Linked DNA regions of Homo sapiens: regions 1 and 2 are each linked to region 3. The links are contacts of gene promoters, found by promoter capture Hi-C in blood cells and fetal thymus (Javierre and others, 2016). All regions are on one chromosome and are shown on one strand. Each heading gives the region's core, a stretch centred on a gene start or on the middle of the fragment in contact. The rest is flanking DNA. Distances are from core to core; before and after follow the strand shown.

Region 1 (3,065 bases), core at 484-2,983, 960 kb before region 3:
TAATTTGGACATAGATACACATGAAACACAATAAAGTCAGAAGGAAATATAACAAAATATTAAAAACAGTTGTCCTTTTATTTTGTTCATTTTGCACAATAAGCCTGTATTTAAGCATGTATTTTTTGGCTTTTTTTTTTTTTTTTTTTTTTTTTGAGACAGGGTCTCACACTGTCATCCAGGCTGGAGTGCAGTGGCATGATCACAGCTCACTGCAGTCTTCTCCTCCTGGGCTCAAGCGATCCTCCCACCTCAGCCTCTGGAGTAGTTGGGACCACGGGCATACACCACCATGCCCATCTAATTTTTTTATTTTTTGTAGACATGGGGTTTTGACATGTTGTCCAGGCTGATCTTGAACTCCTGGGCTTAAGCAATCACCCAACTTGGGCCTCCCAAAGTGCTGGGATCACAGGTGTGAGCAACTGGGCCTGGCCTAGCATGCATTTTTAAAAATATTGATTCCATTCAATGAAATACAAAACAGTGGGATAGGCCTTAAGCTTCAGTTTATGAGCTGTAGGGGAAAACAAGATTAACATTATCTGCCTTCCTTTGTTAGGATACTAATTTCTCACTAGGTTTGGCTACCAGTGTTTTTTAGGTTGCTTCACATCTCTCAAATATGACTCAAACTAATGAAAAGAAGGAAAACAATGTCAAAAAGCCACTAGGCAATGGAATCAGATACTGTCTATATTGGTTGGGAACAGGAAGATGACTCGATGGCCCACCCACCCCCCAAAAAAGCAGCCACTTAAAATTCAAGACCAATACGATCTCAGGCAACACGGACACTGTTCACAGAAGGCACTAAAAGCATGGTGCGCCCTTACCACCTCTCTAACCCCAGGCACTGAGAGCCTGCTCTCACTCAACATGCCCTCCCTAGCCGCAGAGTCCGCGCTCGCTCCACTCAAAGCAAACAGTGAGCTGTCTTGCCCACAGTGAACTCCGCACACAGGCCACTTGCGCACAGCACGCTCCCAGCAACACCTGGCCAGGCCCCTGCTCGCCCAGCCCAGCCCAGGCCAGCCCAGCCCATGGGGCACAGCAGACGCACTGCAACCCTTACCGCGGGTACTGTCCAAGCCCTAATGAACACCCTACTCACCAAGGCACCAAGGGAACACAGGGCAAACTCTCACCACGGGCACAGCACGGGCTCTAGCAACAATCCCACGCACCTGTGCACTCCAGAGCAAGCCCTCACCTGGGGCGCCCAGTAAGCCCTCCCCTTGCTGACTGGGCTCAATCCCGAAAACACGATTCACGCTTCTTTTGGGAACGCAGCCAGATCCTGCGTAAATGTCGGCCGCGCACACGATGCCACCAAACAAGCTTCTGCGTGGTTCCCGCATCCCCCGCCACATACCCCCGGGATCTGAGCACGGCACCCCTCGGAGAACCCTGGCCTCGCTCTCTATCCCAAGCAGGCACGACGTGCAGTGAGCTTCGCCCCGCGCCTCCTGCCCGACTGACTGAGCAGAGCTCTAGCCTCGCCGCGGACGCGCGAATCCACCCCGGGGTCCTACCGGAGAAGGAGGACAGCAGCAACACCAGGGCCGCCAGAAGCAACCCAGGAAAGCGCCGGGAAGGAAAGGGACGCTCGAGACGGACGGGAGGCGCCATGAGCGGCGCGGGAGACCCCGTGATTTATCCGGAGGTGAGCAGAGAAACCGAAAGCCAGCCGAGCAGGGAAGTCCCTTCTGAGTCCGGTTAGTGGACACAACAATCCCCAAACTCACAGTTTCCAGGGCCGCATGACAGGTGGGCGTGGCCTGGGCGCGTAGTGTGAAATTGAGTCTTAGCGCCGGGGCGGCTGGGGCCAATCGGCGGGCCGCGGGGCGGGGCCTCGGCGCGCAGGGGCAGCCCGTTGGCCTTCGAGGAGACAGGGCGTGTCCAGAGCCCTGGCAGGGGGTTATCGTGGGCTAGCACCCCTCAGGGTTAGTTTTATCCTGGGGCACTGCAGGCTGTCAGGACTGCCTGGGCCCTTACTTGGTATTTGGCATTAGTCAGGCATTATTGGGAACAATATTTGAGTTTTTCTTGCTTGAATGCCTGCTACTGAATCGTCTCGGCGCCGTCTTCTTTTCACAGTCTCAAAGGTTTGGCTTCTGCACTCCCAGCCCCTAAGATAATTTGCCCTTTGCTCCCCTCCCTGGAGAGGACCCGTCAGAATCTAAATTATTAAGCAACACCAGGCCGTTAGCATATTGAGACTCTATGGGACCCTTGCCCTTGAGCAACTAAATGTTTTATTGAAGACGAAATATACATGCATGAACAATGTAAGGACAAGGGTGTCCTAAGTGCCAAATTCCTGGAAGCAATAAATGCAGGAGGATTGGGATGGGTAGAAATTGTTAGGCGAAGTGGATAAGGGGGAGAACTTTTCTGGTGAAACAATCTCAGGAACAATGTTGGAAAATTAAGAATGAGCAGGATTGATTTGTAGGGTTCTGAGTAAGCCAGTATGACTGGTAAAAGGGGGAAAAAAAAAGGGAACATGACTGGCATTAAAAGAGCAAACAAAAAAAGTTGACATCTCTTCCCCTCAGATTGGCAAAGAATTAAAACGTCAGCCAATGTGAGTGAACATGTTGCAGGGGGACCAGCACTCTGTTTGTAACATAACTTTTCAGAATGTTAAAAGTCTTAAAGTGGAAATGACTTGTGTTAGGCTCTCAGTTCCCAGAGAAATCATCAGAGCTGTGATCAAAGATTTATAATTTTTGTAAAAAATGTAAACCCTAAGTGTCTAGCAAAAGTAATAAGGAGGCAGTTACCTTTGTGTGATGGAATTCTATGCAGCAAGTATTGCAAAAGAATACCAAATGTGAGAAACTATGATATCATTGTAAGTGGAAAAAGCAGAGTCCAAATTGGCATGTGCATTTTGGCAGTCCTTTTATTAAAACAAAAATGCTATATATATATATATATATATACATACACTAATTTGGAACACAACAAAATTAACAATGGTTAAGATTATAGATATTTCACTTTCCTTGTGCTTTTCAGTTTTCTTTTTCTATGTTGACCCTATGTTACATTTAGAA
Region 2 (2,868 bases), core at 345-2,844, 810 kb before region 3:
TATGTATGCGTTGTGAAACCATCACCAAAATGAAGACAATAAACGTTTCCATCATACATCCCACCCACACAGAGTTCCCTCATGCCCTTCTGTAATCCATCCAAACATCCACTTCCTTCTCTAGGCAACCTTCAATGTGTTTTCTCTTACTACAGATTGATCTGACTTTCTAAAATTTCATATAACCCGAATCACTTCGTTTATATCCTATCATATAAAGGAAATAACTCAGGTGGTTTTCTCTTACTACAGATTGATTTGACTTTCTAAAATTTCATATAACCTAAATCACTTCATTTATATCCTATTGTATAAAGGAAATCACTCAGGTTTTTTTTTATGGTTTAGCCTTCACACAGCATAATTAGAGATCCATCTAGGTTGCTGCATGTATACAAATTGTTTCCTTTAGTTGCTGGGTAATATTCAATTGCATAAATATATCTTAATTTAGTTTATCCATTTACTTGTTGAGGGACATTTGGATTGTTTCCACGTGTTGGCTATTACAAACAAAACTGCTATGAAAATTCATGTACAAGTCTTTGTGTGGACATATGATTTCATTTCTCTTGGGTAAAAACCTAAGAGTAAAATGTTGAGTGTGTGTCTAAGGTTTTAAGAATCTGTTGAACTATTTTCTAAAGTTAATGTTATAATTTTACCTGCCAAATAGCAGTATATTATAATTCCAGTTACTCCACCTTATCGCCAACACTTGGCTCGGTCAATCTTTTTCATTTTAGTCATTCTAGTGGGTATGTATTGTTATCTCATTTCGGGTTTTGTCTTGTATGACTCAGCCCACTTTCACATTCTCCTGGTTCAGATATTCCATTCAAAGCAAGTTGATGTATTCTGTGCTATATGCACAATTAACACATCATCACTTTCATGTCTGTTGCAATATGAGCTGTCAACCCAAAGAACACTCTGCTTTCCATTCTGCATACTTACCCTTTAAGGAATAGATTTGCACTTGCTTTGCTTAGGCACCTCTATCAGTTTAAAAAAAGAGCATGCCCTTTCAAATATATAAATTTATAAATTATATATGTACACGAACATAAATTATATGCCTCAATATAAATTTTTGAAATGTAACACAGATAAAATAAATATTTTAAATGCTTTGTTAATCATCATGACTTAGCACAATCATTAGCTAACATCTAACGGGACAAAAAACAGTCACATTGAGTCTCTCTGTTCACAATAGTGAATGTAAAGCTTATTTCGACAGTCTTCATGATACTTTCTAGGTTTTTTGGTTTCATCGAGTTGTGATCAGTTGTGATTAGACTGACAGCATTTCTTCTACTTAATGCCTCTGACAAAAAATGTGTATACATGTGTCTTTGCGGAGAGGGTGAGAGGGATTGTCAACTCTACCATTTTCTTGTTTTCTGGAGTTGGTTTTATTACTGGGATCTTCACCCAGCATTTCTGTGTAGGACACTTTTGATGTTACCTGTCCAAATGTGAAGCTTATTTTAGATTAAAATAGATAATATAAATCACACATCCACTCATCTGAGCATATGTAAACCAAAATACACCACAAAGCACAGAAAGCAAATTGGAACTTCCCTTCTATCTTGCACCTTTACCTAGCAGGGATAACCAAACCAGATCCTATATGAGGACCACGTGAGGGCGCCAGAGTCCACCCTATATTAAACACTGCCTGGTAAAGCTTAATTCGTGTACTATTTTATGGCTCAGAATGTGGTCTATCCCCATGAATGTAAGCGGGAGAATATGTGCTCTGCTGTTGTGGATGAAGTCATCTATATATGTCAATTATACCCAAGTGGATTGATGGTGCTGTTGAATTCAAGTATGTCCTTACGGATTTTCTGCCTGCTGAATCTGCCCATTTCTGATAAGGAGACTTCAGCACCTTTTCTGATATCAGAAAGATATCATAGAAGTCTCCAACTATGATAGTAAATCCATCTATTTCTCCTTGCAGTTCTATGGGTTTTGCCTCACGTATTTTGTCTCTCCATCAGGTGCATACATATGGGATATTGTTACGTCTTCTTGGATAATTGGCCCCTTTATCATTATATGATGCCCCTCTTTATCCCTAATAATTTTTCTTGGTCTGAAGTCTGCTGTGTTTGAAATTAACACAGCTATTCCTGCTTTCTGTGACTAGCATTAGCATGGTATATCTTTATCCATTTACTTTTCATATATATTGTCTATATTTAAAACGGTCTTGTTGTACACAGTATATAGTTGGGTCTTGTTTCTTGATCCACTCTGATGATCTGTTTCAAATGGTGCATTTCGATCATTGACACTCAAAATGATTGTTGATATAGTTGCTTTAGTTTTGTTACTGGTTTTTATTTGTTGCTTTTTTTCTCTTGTTCTCTGTTTCTATTTTTTGTCTTCCATTCTTTTCCTGCCCTTTATTGTTTTTTGTTTTGTTTGTTTGTTTCTTTTTTTTTTTTTTTTGATTTGGAGTTGCGCTCTGTCACCCAGGCTGGAGTGCAATGGCACGATCTCGACTCACTGCAACCTCCGCCTCCCAGGTTCAAGCGATTCTCATGCCTCAGCCTCCCGAGTAGCTGGGACTACAGGCACCCACCATCATGCCCTGGTAATTTTTGTGTTTTTGTAGAGACAGGGTTTCACTATGTTGGCCAGGCTGGTCTTGAACTCCTGACTTGAGGTGATCCACCCACCTCAGCCTCCCAAAGTGCTGGGATTATGGGCATGAGCCACTGTCCCCAGCCATCTTTATTGTTTTAACTGAGCATTTTATATGATGCAATTCTCTCTTACTTATTAACATATAAATTATAGTTCTTTTTTTCACATTTTTCAGGGGTTGTCCTACATTTGCAATATCTA
Region 3 (2,700 bases), core at 51-2,550:
GGACACCGCCGGCCTCTCCCCGGAGCCGCCCCGCGCGGGCGTGGGAGGGGGCCAGCTGAGGGGGCCAGCTCCGGGATCCAAATAATCCCGCCCCCGCAGCCGGGGGACACCCAGGACCCTCCCGCCGCACACCTCCTGCCCGGCGCGCCCCAAGGCGGCCCGGCTGCCCTCGCGAGGCTCGGGGAAGTGAAATCACACATTCCGGCTCCCAAATAAGGAGCGAGGCTAAATAAACCTCTGCGATCCGACTTCTCCAAACCAACCGACCAACCGGCTCAATGAGTAATGGGCCTTTTGTGCCCGCAGAGAGAGAAAAAGGAGGGAGGAGAGGACGGGGAACCACCAACCCCAAAATCACTTCCTTGAGATGGAGTGAAATTAGCAGAAGTCCCGAAGCCAACCGTTCTGACTCGGCTGGATCCCGCTCAAACCCCAAAATGGCAGGGTCCCCTGAGTCCCCAGGAGCGGGTCCCAGGGCTCCCGCCCGGGAGCGGCCGGAAGCGGTCAGGGAGGCGAGGGCGCTGGGACCCGCCGCCCGCGCCGCACTCGGCACCGCCGGCCCGGCCGCCCCGCCCCGCCCCGCCGCGGCCACCCCTCCGCCCCGCGCCGCGACCCAGGCCGGGACGGGCACCCGACGCCGTGGAGCTCCAGGGCCCGGGACCGGCCCCGCCTCCCCTCCCCGGGCCCCAGACCTACTTTGAGGGCGAATTTCTCCTGGGTCCTCTTGTTGAAGATCTGCAAAACTTTGCCGTTGATGCCCAGCCCCAGGACCTGGCTGGTGACCTTGTAGTCATCGATGATGGCGTTCTTCTTGATCTGCAGGCCGGACTTGACGTGGAACTGCGGGAACTGCTGCGGGGGCGGCGGCGGCGGCTGCGCCGGGGGGTGCGGCAGGGCAGGGGTGGGGGGCTGCGGCGGCGGGGCCGGGGCGGGGAACGGCACCGGCGGGCTCTGGCCCTGGGAGTTGGACAGCATGGTGCCCGGGGACGCCGGGGCACAGGCGGGGGTGCCCGCGGCCGCCCCCTCCTCCGGCTCCGGGCCCCCTCCCCGCCGCCCCCCGACGGGCTGCGAAGTTCGCTCCGGGCTGGAGCCGGCTTCCCCGACCCGGCCCGGCTCCAGGCTCGGCGGGTCGCGGGGCTCCGTGGGTCCCACCGCGCGCCGCTGGCTCCCACCGGCCCGGCGCCCTCCCTCCCTCCCCCCGGGGGCCTGGCGCTCTGGGGACCGCGGGGCGGCGGGGGCCCGGCCGGGGGGAAGCGGCCGCGCGACAATGTACCCAGCCCCGGGCCGGCGGCCGCGTCACAGCCTCGTCTGCGTCCGGGGCCGGTCCTTAAAGGGGAGGGGCGGGGGGCGGGGCCTGGGGAGGCGTGGCGTGGGGGGAGGGGCGGGCCTTAAAGGGGAGGACGCGCGGTGCCGGGAGCTGGGAGGATCGCGGAGTAGGCTGGGGGCTGCTGCCTCGCGGACAGTGAGAGGGGACAGGGAGAGGGGACGAAGAAATGCTAGTTCTTAACCAAGGCTATGCAAAGGGAGAGGGGAGGCGTGTCAAAGGAGCTGCATAATTCAGATGGAAAATCCACTCCTCTCCAATTGTCTGGGCTTCTTAGCGGCAGCGAATTGGGAGAGGGGTGTATTTCCAAGGACAGGGATGGCTTGTAGGTATCCAGCTAGATGAGACCTCGTGGGGGTGGGGGGGAGCTGGAATCACAGGGGTCATTCATCCCAGGAAAAGGTGTGAGCCAAAGGCGGGCGTATTAAATATTTCCCTAACTTCAACATTTTCCTCTGAGGTTTTTTGCATCTCTTTTCTCATTAATTTATTGTTTTTCAGTAAAGACGTATTATTGTGTAACCAGGAGCACTTTAGTAATTATACCTTTGAACATGTTTTCCTGTAAATAAACTAAAAAGGATACAGGGTGGGAAGAGGATGGGTTGAGATTGGGGCCACCTGAATTCCCGCCATCCTTTGCCACGGATTGGCTGTGTGAGGCTGAGCAAGCCTTGCACCTCTCTCTCCGTGGGAAGAACAGCGAGACCTTTTCAAAGGTTGTGGGCAGAGTCAAAGGAGATAATGAAACTGAAGGGGAGGCCCTGGGGAATGGCTTCTGATTTCCGATGTGGAAAAATTAATCCGTAAGAAGTGGGTTAGCCCCGTGTATCTCAGGAAAAGCCCAGGGATCTAGCTGGACCCTGCATAGAAGCTGCCAGGAGGCCTCCACACACATTCTGATGGGGTTCGAGATGACCAAGTACATTCCTGCCGACCTCCTCCCACCTCTGACTGGCAGAACATTTGAGAAATGGCAAGCAACCCAGACAGGTGAACACAAAACCTCAGCTTAAGTCTTGGTAAGGCCAGTTAGAGAATGAGGCTTGACCTATGGCCACACATGCCCCCTAATAGGTCCCCCAAAACTCCAGAGAGAAGACAACACCCCCAGAAGTGGCCACTGGGGATAGAACTTAGGTAGGTAAGGGACAAGTGCAAATGTCTCTTCCCTCATTCACCTTTCCCAGAAGATGCTTGTGGAGGCAGGAATGAGGGGGAGGAGTGAGGGGTGGGAGTTACCCTCCCAACACTGTCCTTTCCTGGGGCAGGTAGGGCTCTGTGGACCAAGGAGAGACATGTTTCCCCCGACACAAACATATGCTCTTCTCAAGCAGCATCTGCTTAGCTCCATGTACAAGGTGCCGTGCTCAGCC

Evidence for each region. Contacts are between HindIII fragments. The CHiCAGO score rates a contact against its expected background, and 5 or more counts as called.
Region 1: the fragment with the promoter of CR1L here is called in contact with the fragment with the promoter of MAPKAPK2 in region 3 in 8 of 17 cell types (erythroblasts, naive CD8 T cells, naive CD4 T cells and 5 more); the score reaches 9.1 in erythroblasts.
Region 2: a fragment that was not itself captured here is called in contact with the fragment with the promoter of MAPKAPK2 in region 3 in 2 of 17 cell types (total B cells and fetal thymus); the score reaches 6.1 in total B cells.

Annotation. Positions count from the first base shown.
Region 1 is chr1:207,643,801-207,646,865 of GRCh38, reverse strand. It overlaps CR1L (complement C3b/C4b receptor 1 like), which reads right to left and starts at 1,733. Exons shown (of 12, transcript NM_175710.2): 1 at 1,536-1,733. The coding sequence starts at 1,632. It also overlaps the pseudogene CD46P1. RefSeq lists an enhancer at 1,624-1,703 and a silencer at 1,764-1,933. The HindIII fragment of the contact is 2,525 bases long and covers 1,344-3,065 here.
Region 2 is chr1:207,498,479-207,501,346 of GRCh38, reverse strand. All of the region lies in intron 1 of CR1 (complement C3b/C4b receptor 1 (Knops blood group)), which reads right to left. Among named protein-coding and RNA genes, the nearest start is that of CR1, 3.8 kb to the right of the region's middle. RefSeq lists an enhancer at 1,728-1,787. The HindIII fragment of the contact is 209 bases long and covers 1,490-1,698 here.
Region 3 is chr1:206,683,505-206,686,204 of GRCh38, reverse strand. It overlaps MAPKAPK2 (MAPK activated protein kinase 2), which reads right to left and starts at 1,300. Exons shown (of 10, transcript NM_032960.4): 1 at 697-1,300. The coding sequence starts at 975. LOC124904495 (a long non-coding RNA gene) reads left to right here and starts at 1,399. Exons shown (of 3, transcript XR_007066833.1): 1 at 1,399-2,464; 2 at 2,662-2,700. RefSeq lists silencers at 35-124, 535-624, 635-684, 1,145-1,324. The HindIII fragment of the contact is 16,303 bases long and covers 1-2,700 here.